2 separate regions of the Homo sapiens genome follow, and region 2 is linked to region 1. The links are contacts of gene promoters, found by promoter capture Hi-C in blood cells and fetal thymus (Javierre and others, 2016). All regions are on one chromosome and are shown on one strand. The core of a region is centred on a gene start or on the middle of the fragment in contact, and the rest is flanking DNA. Distances in the headings are between cores, read along the strand shown.

Evidence for each region. Contacts are between HindIII fragments. The CHiCAGO score rates a contact against its expected background, and 5 or more counts as called.
Region 2: a fragment that was not itself captured here is called in contact with the fragment with the promoter of DENND2C in region 1 in 1 of 17 cell types (total B cells); the score reaches 6.7 in total B cells.

Annotation. Positions count from the first base shown.
Region 1 is chr1:114,666,588-114,673,567 of GRCh38, forward strand. It overlaps DENND2C (DENN domain containing 2C), which reads right to left and starts at 3,462. Exons shown (of 21, transcript NM_001256404.2): 1 at 3,396-3,462. It overlaps LOC124904354 (a long non-coding RNA gene), which reads left to right and starts at 3,824. Exons shown (of 2, transcript XR_007066465.1): 1 at 3,824-4,063; 2 at 4,262-4,367. It overlaps AMPD1 (adenosine monophosphate deaminase 1), which reads right to left. Exons shown (of 16, transcript NM_000036.3): 16 at 6,511-6,685. The coding sequence ends at 6,527. RefSeq lists a silencer at 3,466-3,555 and an enhancer at 3,676-3,835. The HindIII fragment of the contact is 6,814 bases long and covers 766-6,980 here.
Region 2 is chr1:113,946,228-113,953,058 of GRCh38, forward strand. It overlaps HIPK1 (homeodomain interacting protein kinase 1), which reads left to right. Exons shown (of 16, transcript NM_198268.3): 3 at 6,539-6,662. Among named protein-coding and RNA genes, the nearest start is that of HIPK1-AS1, 20 kb to the left of the region's middle. RefSeq lists a silencer at 5,566-5,766. The HindIII fragment of the contact is 2,475 bases long and covers 717-3,191 here.

The DNA of each region.
Region 1 (6,980 bases), core at 2,212-4,711:
TGGGATTACAGGCACACGCCACCACACCCGTATAATTTTTGTATTTTAGTAGAGATGGGGTTTCGCCATGTTGACCAGGATGCTCCCGATCTCCTGACCTCTTGATCCACCTGCCTTGGCCTCCCAGAGTGCTGGGATTACAGGCATGAGCCACCACGCCTGGCCCTAAATCTTAACTTTTTACTTACCTAAGTCTGTAATGTTATCTTATATCTTGTACTTCAAAGTATTAAAAGTACCTTTAACACCATATTTTTTAGTGAAACATTCTGCCAAACTGAACTAATTACTCATTTCATTGTTCCAAATGAAGGGAAGTGAAATACCACATTACCTAGCAATTTTAGTGATCCTAATGCAATCAGCAAGGAAGCTTTGCAATTTTATTTTTTCATCTTATTTCCAGGCACCATCTCCTTTAGCCAAACCACCCATTTCTACACACCCTGGCCTTCAGTACAATGGACTACAACACATTCCTCAAACATACCATATACTTGCACACTTATCCCTGGTTTTCATTCATATCTCCTGTTTCCTGACCCAATTTCAGCAAACTCCTATTCATCCTTCAAAGCCAAATTTAATATCTTCTCTCTAATCGTCCTCCCTACCACACGCAGAATGATTTTTCCTCATCAGTGGTTAAATTCTATCTATACTTCTTTCTTTTTCTTGCAACTCTTCAAACGTACCTAAATCTATACTTCTTTACAGCTCTTATCATGCTGAAATTGTAGAGCCTTATTTACATGTTGGGTTATAAGCTTCTTAAAGACAGGGAAGCATTTTCTCTTCTTGAATCTAATACTTAATTTACAGTCTGAGAACAGATATTTTTAACTTCTTAATGAAAGAAGTTATGAGGTGCTTTTTAATGAAAAATAAGCACCTCATATTGTTAAGATAATGCCATAACTGTTGTTACTGAGGGACTGAGAGCTTAGAATCATCCCCATGTCATTCACTGGCAACAATAACAAAAAAAGGGTTCCCACAGATAAACTATAATTACATCGTTTTAATTGCAATAAAACTGGTATTGCAATACCAGTTTATTTTTTCCTCTTTCTTTCCTTCTTTTTGAAATAGTTTTTTATAGACCTCTTTTTAAAATACCTATTAGATGTCATTTGTATCTCACTCACAGAATTTGAAACTCAGTATAGCGCAAAGGTTACAATCAGGTCCTTGGAGAATGACTGATTTGAATCCTACTTTTGCTATCTAGGTTGTCTAATCATGGGCAAGTTACTCAACCTCTCTATGCCTCTTAATGAGATAATCATAATAACATCCCTCATGGTGCTGTTGTGAGGATTAAGTAAGCTAATACATGTAAAGAATTTAGAATACTGCCTGGCACAGACTAGGTACCAATGAATGATAGCTGATGTTGTTATTGTTACCATCCGCTTTAAAAACAGCTTTTGTTTTTTCAGTACTTATTTTAGCCCACTTGGTAGAATGGAATCTCCTAGATGACAGGAATTACATACTGCTCTTACATAAATATAATCTTGTGCCTATTGTGTAGTAGGCCCTCAAAAAACAATGTGAATGTAAGGTTTCAGACCTCCAAGATCAAGAAATTGTAAATCACAGAAAAATTTATACATGGAGTACGTTTAAAACTCATGTTTTAAAGTAGCTTCAAAAGACCCATCCTCCACTGAATTGCTGAAACATGTTTAAGTAAAACTTCTAAAGCAACACACACAAAAATTACATTCACTAGTAACTTTCCCTCTACTACTTCATTTAATTTGATCTTGGTATCCAGTGGTCTAAAATTCTTGCCTATAACTTAAGACTCACTACAGACCATTTAAAAGTAATATAATTTCCAGCTTTAGAAAACTGCTTATTGTCATTAAGAAAAATAAATATTCTTCCTTTATTGCTGCATTTAAAAAACGTACTGCCACATTCAACACACACACACACACACACACACACACACACACCCCAACTAATGAAAGACCAAGACACATAATTACTACATTTCCTGGTTTCTGCCTGGCAAACTCAGAACAGGCCTACAAGTATCCCCAGCAAAAGCCTACAGGTTACAAAACTGCCATTTTCTTTTTTATTTCCCATCTCCCCGCTAAAATCCCTCGCACACATATCCATAGTAAAGAACAAAAACGTCTATAATAAAGGCTGTATGAAAAAATATGGCTATATATTAACAATATTTTGGAAGATTTAAATCTTCCTATAAGCAGCCCGTCAATTCACAAAAACAAATTAAAGTCTTGATTTGGAACAATATTCCCAGCTTACTTTAGCAGGTATCTTAAACTACAACTATTTAGCTAAGACAAAGAAGTAGATTATTTGATTGCTACAGACTTCGCGGTAAATGATTCAGCAACAGTGTATAGATAACACCACTGTGCTATTCTAGAAAATTTCATCAATCATTTAAAAATAGGACACACTCAAACAATGGGGGTCACTTTGTGGGAAAAGTTTAAACAACTTATTTACACAGTAAGCAAGGATCTATCACTTTATCTAAAACACTGCAGAAGAATCACTAGCTTTAGGGTAAACGTTTGTAAAGTGCCTACTATGTACCAGGCAAGTAGTAGTTGCTTCACAGAATATACACGCTCCACACGCACGTTCAAATATCTGACATTTGTAGAATACTGTCACTCATCTGATTTGACCCTGAGAATACCCATAGGCATGAACTTGCCAGTTTCACAGTTACGGAAAGAGAGGCCCAGGAAGTTAATTTGGCCGAGGTATCACATCTGGTTCCGCGGGTTCTGGCCCTAGACTTGAGCCTTTTGACTCATAATCTAATCATCAGCTGCTATACAGCTCTAGTTACTCAAAAGCTCTTAGGTGTTCCACTGTCAGACTTTTAAATTAAAATTCTACTTGACAACTTTCGGTATTGTGCGTATTAGATGCTGTTAAGAATCAAAACACCAAAAAAAGCAAAATATTGTTTGGAAGTGCATCGTCCCAGCATGTCGAAGTTCAAGCTCACTGGCTAATTTTGGAGAAAGCCCGCGTTTCCCCAGGCTGCCGGGCGCTCCCTCCCTCTTCCCCAGCAGAGAGCGGCGCCCAGCCTAGGGGTCCCCAAGCCCCTGAGGTAGCGAGGAGGTCTTCAGCCAGGCTCCGCCACAACCCGTGCGGCCACGAGAGGACGTCCCAAAGCTGGGCCCAACAACCGGTTGCTCCTCCGGACGGAGGAGGTGCCGAGACAGCGGGGCGCGGAGACACCACCTCCGCCAGCTCGGCTCGCACCGTCCGAGGACTACGCCGCGGCGCCACAGCCCCGCACCCGACGCCCAGAAGGGTGATGCCGACAGCCCCGAGAGTCCGAAGCCCCTGCGGCTTAAAACCCCGCGCCGAATCACCCCGACTCTTACCTGTCTGTACCTCAACGTTGTCTCCTGTGGCCAAGCTAGTCTCCCGGGTATCACTCGGGTCCGCTCCGTCCCGCCCCCGCAGGCCCTGCCGAAGGCCCCGTCCCGGCTGCAGCCCCACCCCCTAGCCCCGCCCTCCCTGGCAAGGCTCAGTTCTTATTGGCTCCTATTCCCACCCCTCACGCTATGCCCGCCTCCGACACCGCCCCGGCCGGCGGTGAGGGGAACCACCACGCCTCAAGTCCGCTGTATGGCCAGAACCTTGCCAGGACCTCGGTCACTGCAGTTCCAGCAGGCGGGCGACCAGTGTCACCGTCGTCCGGCCAAGCCCTCGAGCCAGAGCTCCATCGCCTTCGCCTGCCGTCGCATCGGCCCCACGGAGACGGCCCTATGCTTCATGTGAAGGTTTACTCTTCACAACTACTCAACAAGATAAAGCCTGGCTTAATCAGGGAATCCAAGCACTGTTTCCTAGGCTGACCTCAGTGAGCAAACAATTGCACTACGGTGCCAACTTGAAACGTCAAGAGAAGCAAATAACTCTCGCGGCACCTCAGGCTTGGAATCTCAGAACGGGGGTGCCTTGATACTCCCAGTGCGTGAGGTCAGCCCCCACGCCCTGTTGAGACACACATGCCTAAGCGCTCCGCCTGCAACACGCTCTTGCTTAGGTATGTGCGTGGTGTTGTGCCTACTGCAAGCTGTAACCCAGTTTCACCGAGGCTGCGGGACAAGGATCAGTTGAGCCTGTTTCCCAGGCACTCGCTAACCACCCCACCCCGCCTCGCCCCGCCCCACCCCACCCCACCCCACCCAGCCAGAGCCTCTTGGGTCTGGTGACCAAACTCTTCCTACATTTGTTCACACAGAGGTACCAAAATAGAAGACTACCAGAAAGAGAGGTGTTTAGTTACGTATCACGGATGACTGTCACAAGCAAACTTAACCCAAACAATAAAGGTAGCATATCCCAAACCGTTGTGAAACTATCACCTGTAGACAGTAAAACAGAAATTACATTCTATGATGGGGGAAAAAAAAGTAATGACATACTTAAAAAAAATCATGTCCCAATGAGGAAATAAATGTGGATATTGTTTGTAGTAAATTTTGCACACTGATCATTATGGGCTTCCCCCACCAAAAAAAAAAAAATTCTTATATAATGTGTCTATCTATTTATTTATTGAGACAGGGTCTCTTTGTGTCACTCACACTGGAGTGCGGTGGCCCAATCATAGCTCACTTGAAGTCTCAACTTCCTAGGCTCAAAGAATCGTCCCACCTCGGCCTCCCAAGCAGCTAGTATTATAAGCATGCACCACCACCCCCGGCTAATATTTTTATTTTTATTTTTTTGTAGAGACAGGGTCTCGCTATGTTGCCCAGGCTGGTCTCCAACTCCCGAGCTCAAGCAGTCCTCCTGCCTCAGCCTCCCAAAGTGCTGGGATTACAGACATGAGCCACTGCACCCAGCCCAGAAATGTATTTTTTGACCCCTGCATTCAGGAAGATTATTTGGCAAAATAAGGCAGGTTGAATTCCAAGTATCACGTATGAAACCAAATTTATAGATTAATAAATGAATTCACATGTATGTATTCTACTGCCCTCTCATGGGTAAGATGGAGATATACATAATGGTAGTTAATGCCCTTTGAAGTCTGAGAATACAGTGTTTAATGTAGCAATTTGTACTATTTTGATGATGAGGAGGCCAAGGTAAAATAAAATCTGGTTCTTTAAAGGGTTCACAAATACTCAACAAACAAAACTTCAACTTCAGAAATCAGGAAGAGATTCTTACACCAGAGCTAGTACAAACATGCCATCAGGGTTACACCTATGCTTATGGCTGCATGTGTAGAATATAGAAACGTGCAGAAATTTGCTTTCAATTTTTTTTCCATTTGAAAGTTCAGGCTGGGCACAGTGGCTCACGCCTGTAATCCCAGTACTTTGGGAGGCCAAGGCACATGGATCGCTTGAGCATAGGAGTTTGAGACCAGCTGGGGTGACATGGTGAAACCGCGTCTCTACAAAAGGTTCAAAAAAGTAGCTGGGTGTGGTGGCATGTGCCTGTAGTCCTGGCTACTCGGAAGTCTGAGGTAAGAGGATCACCTGAGCCTGGGAGGCCGAGGCCGCGGTGAACTGTGATTACACCACTGCACTGCACTCCAGCCTGGGTGACAGAGCAAGACCCTGTCTCAAAAAAAAGAAAAAAGTTCATTACTTTTGAAGACATTTCACAAAATTCTATTTTTTACTTGTAGCCACACTATAACTTCATGCTGAGGACAACTAGAGGATAGGAATGAAATCTTATTCTGTATACCTTTGGTGTTTAGAATAGTACCTGATAATTTAGCTATTTGATCAATAATTGTTTATTGAATAAGTTGAATGAAATGTCAGCCCAGCCACTAGATGCCAACACAGTTGTATGTGTGGAAGTATCATCTGCCCATTTGGAATTTCACCTGACCTTAAGTAATAGGCATGCTTCTTAAAAGTTATATGTACATTTTACTTTGGTAAGCAAAATCATTTAAAATGTACCAGTTTAGCTCACTATAATCTTATTGTCAATTACATCCTTAAAGCTAAGAATCCTTTTGTAAGATAAATTCTCCCTCAATATAATAACTCATAAATACTGATTTTCTATATTGAGGTACGCCCTCTGGTTTTGTCTAAAAAAGCCACTATTCACTTATACCTTGTCAAAGAACTTTTTAGTGGTTCTAAGTGCCTTAAGCAAATTTCATGCTATAAACCAGAAGCCTATCTCCCAAAAAGTCATTTGCTTGTATTTTTGCCCAGCTTTAATAGATATTTTGCCTGAAAGTCATAGAGACTGCAGTCAGAGAAACCCACGTTCCCACTGCTACCCTTCACCAGGTATATCCTTGTGCAGGTTATTAACCTTATTAGCTTTAGTGTACTAATTTCCCCCAAAATGGAGATAATAATATCTACTTTATAAAGGTTGTGAGAAGGATTAAATGAAATAATTTCAGTGGAACATCTAATACTTTCCTTGGTTTATAGTAGGGACTCAATAACAGGTAACTATTATTATTCAAACTCTACAATGAAATTCTCACTCATATTATTATTTGGTTTACTTTTTTTTATTCTGTTGATTTAAGACCCTCAGCAATTAAATTGAGTTCATAACACCAGGTTTCATAGCGATAGGCCATGCGGATTTGGGCTACATTTGTCCTCCGGATATCATTTCCAGCAGGGCCTTCCTCAAGGTAATTGTCGCCCAGAAACTTTACTTTCTCCTATAAGAGAAAAGGATGGCAGAATGATTGTTGTCTCTTTTCACCCTGGTATAGACAATAATTGCATTCTTTACAAAAATTCCTTCCTTATGTTAGCCACTGACAAAAGAATAATAATAATAGACCATTAAAAGCACCCATCTAGTGCCTCAGTGTTCACAGTCTGCTGAGAAATCAAGTGTATTTTACTTCCCTGGCCCAAAAGGCACAGGCAAAGAGATAGAATAATCCCTTCTAGTCCCTGTCCATAGTAACTGCATATGATTCGTGGAACAATTTTTCTACATGTGTTTCC
Region 2 (6,831 bases), core at 704-3,203, 720 kb before region 1:
GGTGCACTGAAGAATTCAGCGCAGCATCCCATTTTGAGTCCTCAGGAGGGACTAGGCAGACCACAGCTGAAGGAAGAGGGCTGATCAGCTCTTCCTTTCTGTCTTGACTCTGTGCCTGCAGGTGTTCTTTAACTATTTGTTTGCCCTGTCAAAGACAAAGTGCATTCTCTTGTGATAACAGAGTAGTTTTTAAATTGAAAAAGGGAGAGCAATAGGAGATAAAAATTATTTGGCTTTGTTATAATTGGGGCATGTTAATACAAAATAAAATGAATTATTTGGCTGCTTAGCTTTCTGTAATGTGTAATTCATTTGAATAATTTTCAGTGTTAGGTTGCTGATCTTTGTATTTTTTATCCTTTTAATTTAAGCTGTCAATTGATTCATTTTGGTTTTGTTTTTTATAGAAACTAAGGTTTTCAAATCTTCAAAGTTACCCTTCGACAAAGCTTTCTTTAAATTCACTGCAATATAGTTGTTGACTATAATTTTAAGTGGAGCTAAGTTTGCCTCTTAAAAACAGGAGTTCATTCTGTGTATTACTGAGTAATTACTCTGTATACTGAAGTTCAGTGCCCAGGGCTTGACAGTGTTTAGGATTTAACATGAGTGTTCTGTTGTGTCACAGTAATACTTGATAATGAGCCTAAGGCAGATGGAACAGCAGCTCAGGCATTCCTTCTTTATCACTAGTTTTACCCGCAGTGGTCCTCTTAAGCTTCTTTGATGTTGCTTTGTTGCCATATTAGAGTCCATTAAGTCCTCACCCTTCTGTCTTTCAAAAAACCTCTGTGAAATCTGTTTGGCTGGTGAAGCATTTTGACTCCAAAGCTAGTCCTTCTCTTACCCACCTTTTTAGTTTACCTTGCTTTGTCTTTCTGATAATATGCCAGTATTATCAGCTCACATAAATTTGCCAACTTGCTGTGTCCATTGGCCCTGGGCATGGCTAAATGATTCAGGCAGTGGAAATAATATACTTTACTCTCTGGCTCACTGTAAATGTGCACAGACTCCAAGCAAAGCTCCTGTCTTTCGGGCTTGAGTTTTAGAGACAAAGGTTTGCCATGCTTACAGGCTGAATGTTTTTCCCTACTGAACAAACTAGCCAGCCTTTATTTCAAGCTGAATCACTTTGTTACTTACGGAAGGAAAAGGTCTAGAGAAGGAAAACGTATCTTCCATTTATCCTAGACAAACAAATAATCTAATTTCCTCTGGCAGTCAAAATATAGTTTCACCTAAGCCACTGATGCAGGAAGTTAGGTTTTATGTAACCTCTCTAATTGGTAAGTAAGTAGGTTTGATGTCTCTGAGATAGGAAGAAAGAAACGAAAATGTTCATGAAAATAATCAGAGTGATTTGTGTTAAGTGATCCTAACCTTAGCTTGCTCTGGGTGCCAGTGAAATTAACCTCAACAATGTTGGTTGGAAGAATTTTTCAACTTAAAGAAGTTTGAAGTTGGGGAATCAAAAGGCAGGGATTGTTGTTTCTATCACTTAGCTGTAATAACCAGAGCCTGTTTAGTATTTGTTTTTTAAGGATGGGATGTGTCTTCAAAGAGGAGACTTGCCATGTTCAAAGCACAATTAATGCCATTTTCCTACTGAAGTGAACACTGCCAGTTTTTAACAGTTTCTTTCACTTTCCTGTGCTTCTGTAGATAACCTTTTTTACTGCCCAGTTGTTGGAATGTTACAGCTGGAAAGGGACCTAGAAGAGTAATTATCTAACTCTGTTTCCTTATTACACAAATGAGGTAGAACCAGAGTTTTACGTGTCTGTAGAGTTTATATTGAGGGATTAAGAAATAAGGAGGCCAAGAGGAAAGATGTAATGAAAATAATTCTAATAATTATAATCTGGATTCACAGTTTAAAGTATTCAGTCCTTAGAGATAAACCTGCTCTAGTGATGCCTTACTGTTCAGTAAAGTAGAAAATAACTTGTCTTTTTGCTTCGTAGAGTTTGGGTAAGTCTAACATTTATAGGCCCAAATAATACAAAACCCTCAGTGAACTAAGCAGCCTTACTGCTTTTTTGTTTGTTTTTGAGACAGGGTCTCAGGCTGGAGTGCAGTGGCGCAATCATGGCTCACTGCAGCCTTGACCTCCTGGGCTCAAGTGATCCTTCCACCTCAGCTTCCTGAGTAGCTAGAACTGCAGGCATGCACCACCATACCTGGCTAATTTTTTAAATTTTTTTGGTAGAGATTGGGTCTTGCTGTGTTGCCTAGGCTGGTCTCAAACTCCTGCTCAAGTGATCCTCCTGCCTTGGCTTCCCAAAGTGCTGGGATTATAGGTGTGAACCGCCGTTTCTGGCCGTATTTTTTTTTTTTTTAAACTGCTTTCCTTTTTTTGTTTTTCCTTTTGCTATTTGCCTTTTTATAAGGTAGATACGGTAGAGTTGCTGTTTTGACTGAGCTTTTGCTGGAAGTCCTTAGCTGCTTTTGTCACTCCAAAAGCAGGGTGAGACCAAATGAAAAAACTTTCAGCTAATCTTCAGTTTTTTTTTTTAATTAAATGGGACTTGGGGGCTGTGGAAGTGATATTTTCCTTAATTTCCCAGAAAACTTTAAGCTCGAGACAGTTATCATATATTATTGCTACCTTTTTTATTTTTTTCTGAGACGGAGTTTCGCTCTTACGCCCAGTCTGGAGTGAATTGACGTAATCTTGGCTCACTGCAACCTCTGCCCCCCGGGTTCAAGCGATTCTCCTGCCTCAGCCTCTGGAGTAGTTGGGATTACAGGCGCCTGCCACCATGCCCAGCTAATTTTTGTATTTTTAGTAGAGACTGGGTTTCATCATGTTGGCCAGGCTGGACTTGAACTCCTGACCTCAGGCCATCCACGTGCCTTGGCCACCCACAGTGCTAGGATTATAGGCGTGAGCCACCGCGCCTGGCCTGTTATCGCTACCTTTTAAAGAAGAAAGTTATAGAGTGGCCTGGCCATTCTCTGTGACCTACCTTTTGGACTTTAAAATGTCTTTCTAGTATGGTAGGAATAGCAAAATCAATATGCTGCCCTCCAATTGATGCTTTGGAATGTTCTAAACCCAGTTTTTATTTTGGCTCATTGCCAGTTGTGCTCCCCCTGCCAGCTATTTTTGGCATTGTCATGAACTTGGAAATTAATGATTCTGCTCACTAGGAGTAGAAAATTTTGTTCCTTTTCAATTTTAGAAAAGCTTTTATGTTGTTTCTGGGTAGTCTTACTAGCTTATTAATGCGCCTGTCAAACTTGTGCAGTGTTGAAAACATGCCATTATGGTTGAGATTTCACTGAACTCTGAAATTCCATCAGTAATATGTGCCTCTAGCCACCTGCAACAGGAATATCACTTTTGAGGGTTACTTCTTTTCTTTTCTTTTTTTTTTTTTTTTGAGACAGAGTCTTACTCTGTCACCCAGGCTGGAGTGCAGTGGCACTGTGTCAGCTCACTGCAACCTCCGTCTCCTGGGTTCAAGCAATTCTCCTGCCTCAGCCTCCTGAGTAGCTGGGATTACAGGTGCCCGCCACCACACCTGGCTGATTTTTTATATTTTTAGTAGAGATGGGGTTTCACCATGTTGGCCAGGCTGGTCTCAAACTCCTGACTTCAGGTGATCCAGCCTCCTCGGCCTCCCAAAGTGCTTGTATTACAGGCATGAGCCACCGCACCCGGCCAGTTATTTCTTTGGTAAACAAAACCACAGTTCAAATTAAATACTACAAAAACTGATGATATTGGTGGTTCCACCCATAGCTGTTAAAAAGTGTAAGCCCGAAGAGGCCTGGGTCGACTGCTATTTGTATTTAAGGATCAGAAAAGCTTTCAGGCCCTGTGGAGTCCCCAGATTTACTGTTTTCTAAGGGCCACTATTTATGTATAAATACTAGGGGAGGATTTTTTTTTTCTTCTATGCCTAGTTTGCTTAGATGGGGAGGGATATTCTTATTTAGGGAAATTATATTCTCCTTGCTTAATCCTTGCCTTCCCTCAACCCCCTGCACATATACACAAAACAACAATAAGCACATATCACTTGAAAGTAGTTTGAGAAACCTGGGTATTCTGTGAGGAGACACGGCCAGTTAGATGGTTCTTCACGGAAAGATCTGTTTTCCATTTAACTCCTGTAACATGAGGAATCTGAATCTGGATCTGGATCTGGATCTGGAGTGTCCTTATAGATTATAATTCCATGACTTGTAAGAAAGAAAGGAAATTATTTGGAGAAGATGATCCAGTGCCTAAGAGCTGAAATCTTGGATCCAAATAGCTTGGGTACCATCCTTTTTCTTTTGTTGAGATGGAGTCTCGCTCTGTCGCCCAGGCTGGAGTGCAGTGGCAGATCTCAACTCATTGCAACTTATGCCTCCCAAGTTTAAGTAATTCTCTTGCCTCAGCCTCTGAGTAGTTGGGATTACAGCTGCCCGCCACCATGCCCAGCTAATTTTTGTATTTTTAGTAGAGATGGAGTTTCACCGTGTTGACCAGGCTGTTCTCGAACTCGTGACCTCAAGCAATCCACTCACCTTGGCTTCCCAAAGTGCTGGGATTACAGGTGTGAGCCACTGCGCTGGCCAAGGGCACCATCTTTTAGTAGTTATGTAGCCTTGGGCAAGTTACTTTAACCTCTTAGTGCCAGTTTCTTCATCTGTAAAATGGAGGTAATACTTTTATTGCATAGAATCTAACATGCCATTGATTATAAGATACATTATTTTTGTACCACTTAAAAAAGGAAAAGCGCTGCCATTAAACTAAAATATACCATCATTTGTAAGAATCTTCTTAATTTCAGAGGTGCTAACATGTAAAAAGATGTGTATCTTAGAATTGATGACATCATAATAATACTTTGATAGGATTGTTGTAAGGATTAAGTGACTCAACATTTATAAAGAACTTAGAACAGTGCATGGCACATAGTAGGCAATATTTATGTGTCATTTATTATTATTGCTATTAGTGTTACCTATTATTTTCTTTTTGAACCCACTTATTGCCTAATTAGTCATAGTTTGACAATTGCCCTTGTATTCCACCATGTCAAATATAAATTTACATAGATGAGTATGTACTTTTACTTATTGAGAAACAGTGTAATATATAATATACTCAATTCTGGAGCCAGATTGCAGGGATTCAAATCCTAGCTCTGCCACTTATTTGACTGTGACTCTAGGCCAATAACTTAATCTTTCTTTTTCTCAGTTTCTTCTTCTGTAATGGGGATAATAATTCTATTTTAGATGTGTTCGTATATATAAACGTCTGAGTTATGGATTACCTTAGTCATCTCTTTAAAGTTCCCTAGCATTTTATTTCTCACTTGGACTGTTAATGAATATTTCTAAAAAGCACACTAAGAGTTCAAAGTTTTAAAATAATGGTAACATAATACTGTTATTATATCTAACACCTACTAGTATTTACCATGTGCCATGCACTGGTCTAAAAGCTTTCATATATTTATTTAAGCTTCACAACAACTCTATGTGGTGGGAACTCTTACTGTCTCCATTTTATAGATGAGGAACCTGAGGCACAGAGAGATCAAGTAATATACCTGCAGCTATTAAATGATGGAACTAGGATTCAGACCCTGACAGGCTGGCTCTAGAGAGTGTGCTGTCAACACCATGTCTCTTCAGAAGGCATTTCTTTTTCTTTTTTTTTTTTCCAGAAGGCATTTCTGTCATGAAGGGTTATTTATTGACCAGGGCTTTTTTTTTTTTTTTTTGGACTGTCTTGGGTCTCCTAGGCTGGAGTGTAGTGGTGTGATCTTGGCTTACTGCAACCTCTACCTCCTGGGTTCAAGCGATTCTTTTGTCTCAACCTCCTGAGTAGCTGGGATTACAGGCGCCCACCACCACACCTGACTCATTTTTGTATTTTTAGTAGATTTGGGGTTTCACCATATTGGCCAAGCTGGTCTTGAACTTCTGACCTCAGGTGATCCACCCGCTTCGGCTTCCCAAAGTGCTGGGATTACAGGCATGAGCCACTGTGCCCAGTTGACCAGGCCTTTTAATTGATTTTTTTTTTTTATGATTGAAATGGTGCTAGGAATAATAATAAAAAAAATCTATTATCCCTTATCTGTGATTGCAAAATTCAGAAAGCTCTCATAAATGAAAATTTTTCTTTAAGTTTGGTATAAATTCATTTAATTGGCAAGACCTGACTTGAACCATTGTTAAGCTATTTGAAGTCTTTATTTAGCCAACTTAGTATGACTGTTCCATGTTTTGTTGCAGAAATATTAATGTGTTTGATTATAGTGCACTGCCCTGAACTCCACTGGGATTATTATATAATGTGTACTTTGTGTTCTGCATTACCTTTCTGAAATTCAAAATATTCTGAATTCCAAAACACATCTGGCCCTGAGCTTCAGATGATGGATTGTATACCAAAGATTTTTTTTCCATTTCATTGAATAAATGTTCCTTTAGCTAATACTAAAACAGGACTTAGTCATGTAGTTAATTTTCCCAAATAATGTTTTTTTTTTTTTAATCTGATATTTTTTGTTTTTGCTAGAGCTCCTGAAATTATTCTTGGGTTACCATTTTGTGAAGCTATTGATATGTGGTCACTGGGCTGTGTGATAGCTGAGCTGTTCCTGGGATGGCCTCTTTATCCTGGTGCTTCAGAATATGATCAGGTAAAAGTGTTTATTTGAATGGAAATAGAATGCAAATAGTTACTTGTGAATTAGATTCTGGAGAAAGAGAAGTACTAAGTACTACTGAAGTATTTAGATAATAGGGAAAGAGTAGTCCAATTGCTACTAAAGAACTTTTTAAAGAATAGTATAATTTTCTCTTCCTGCT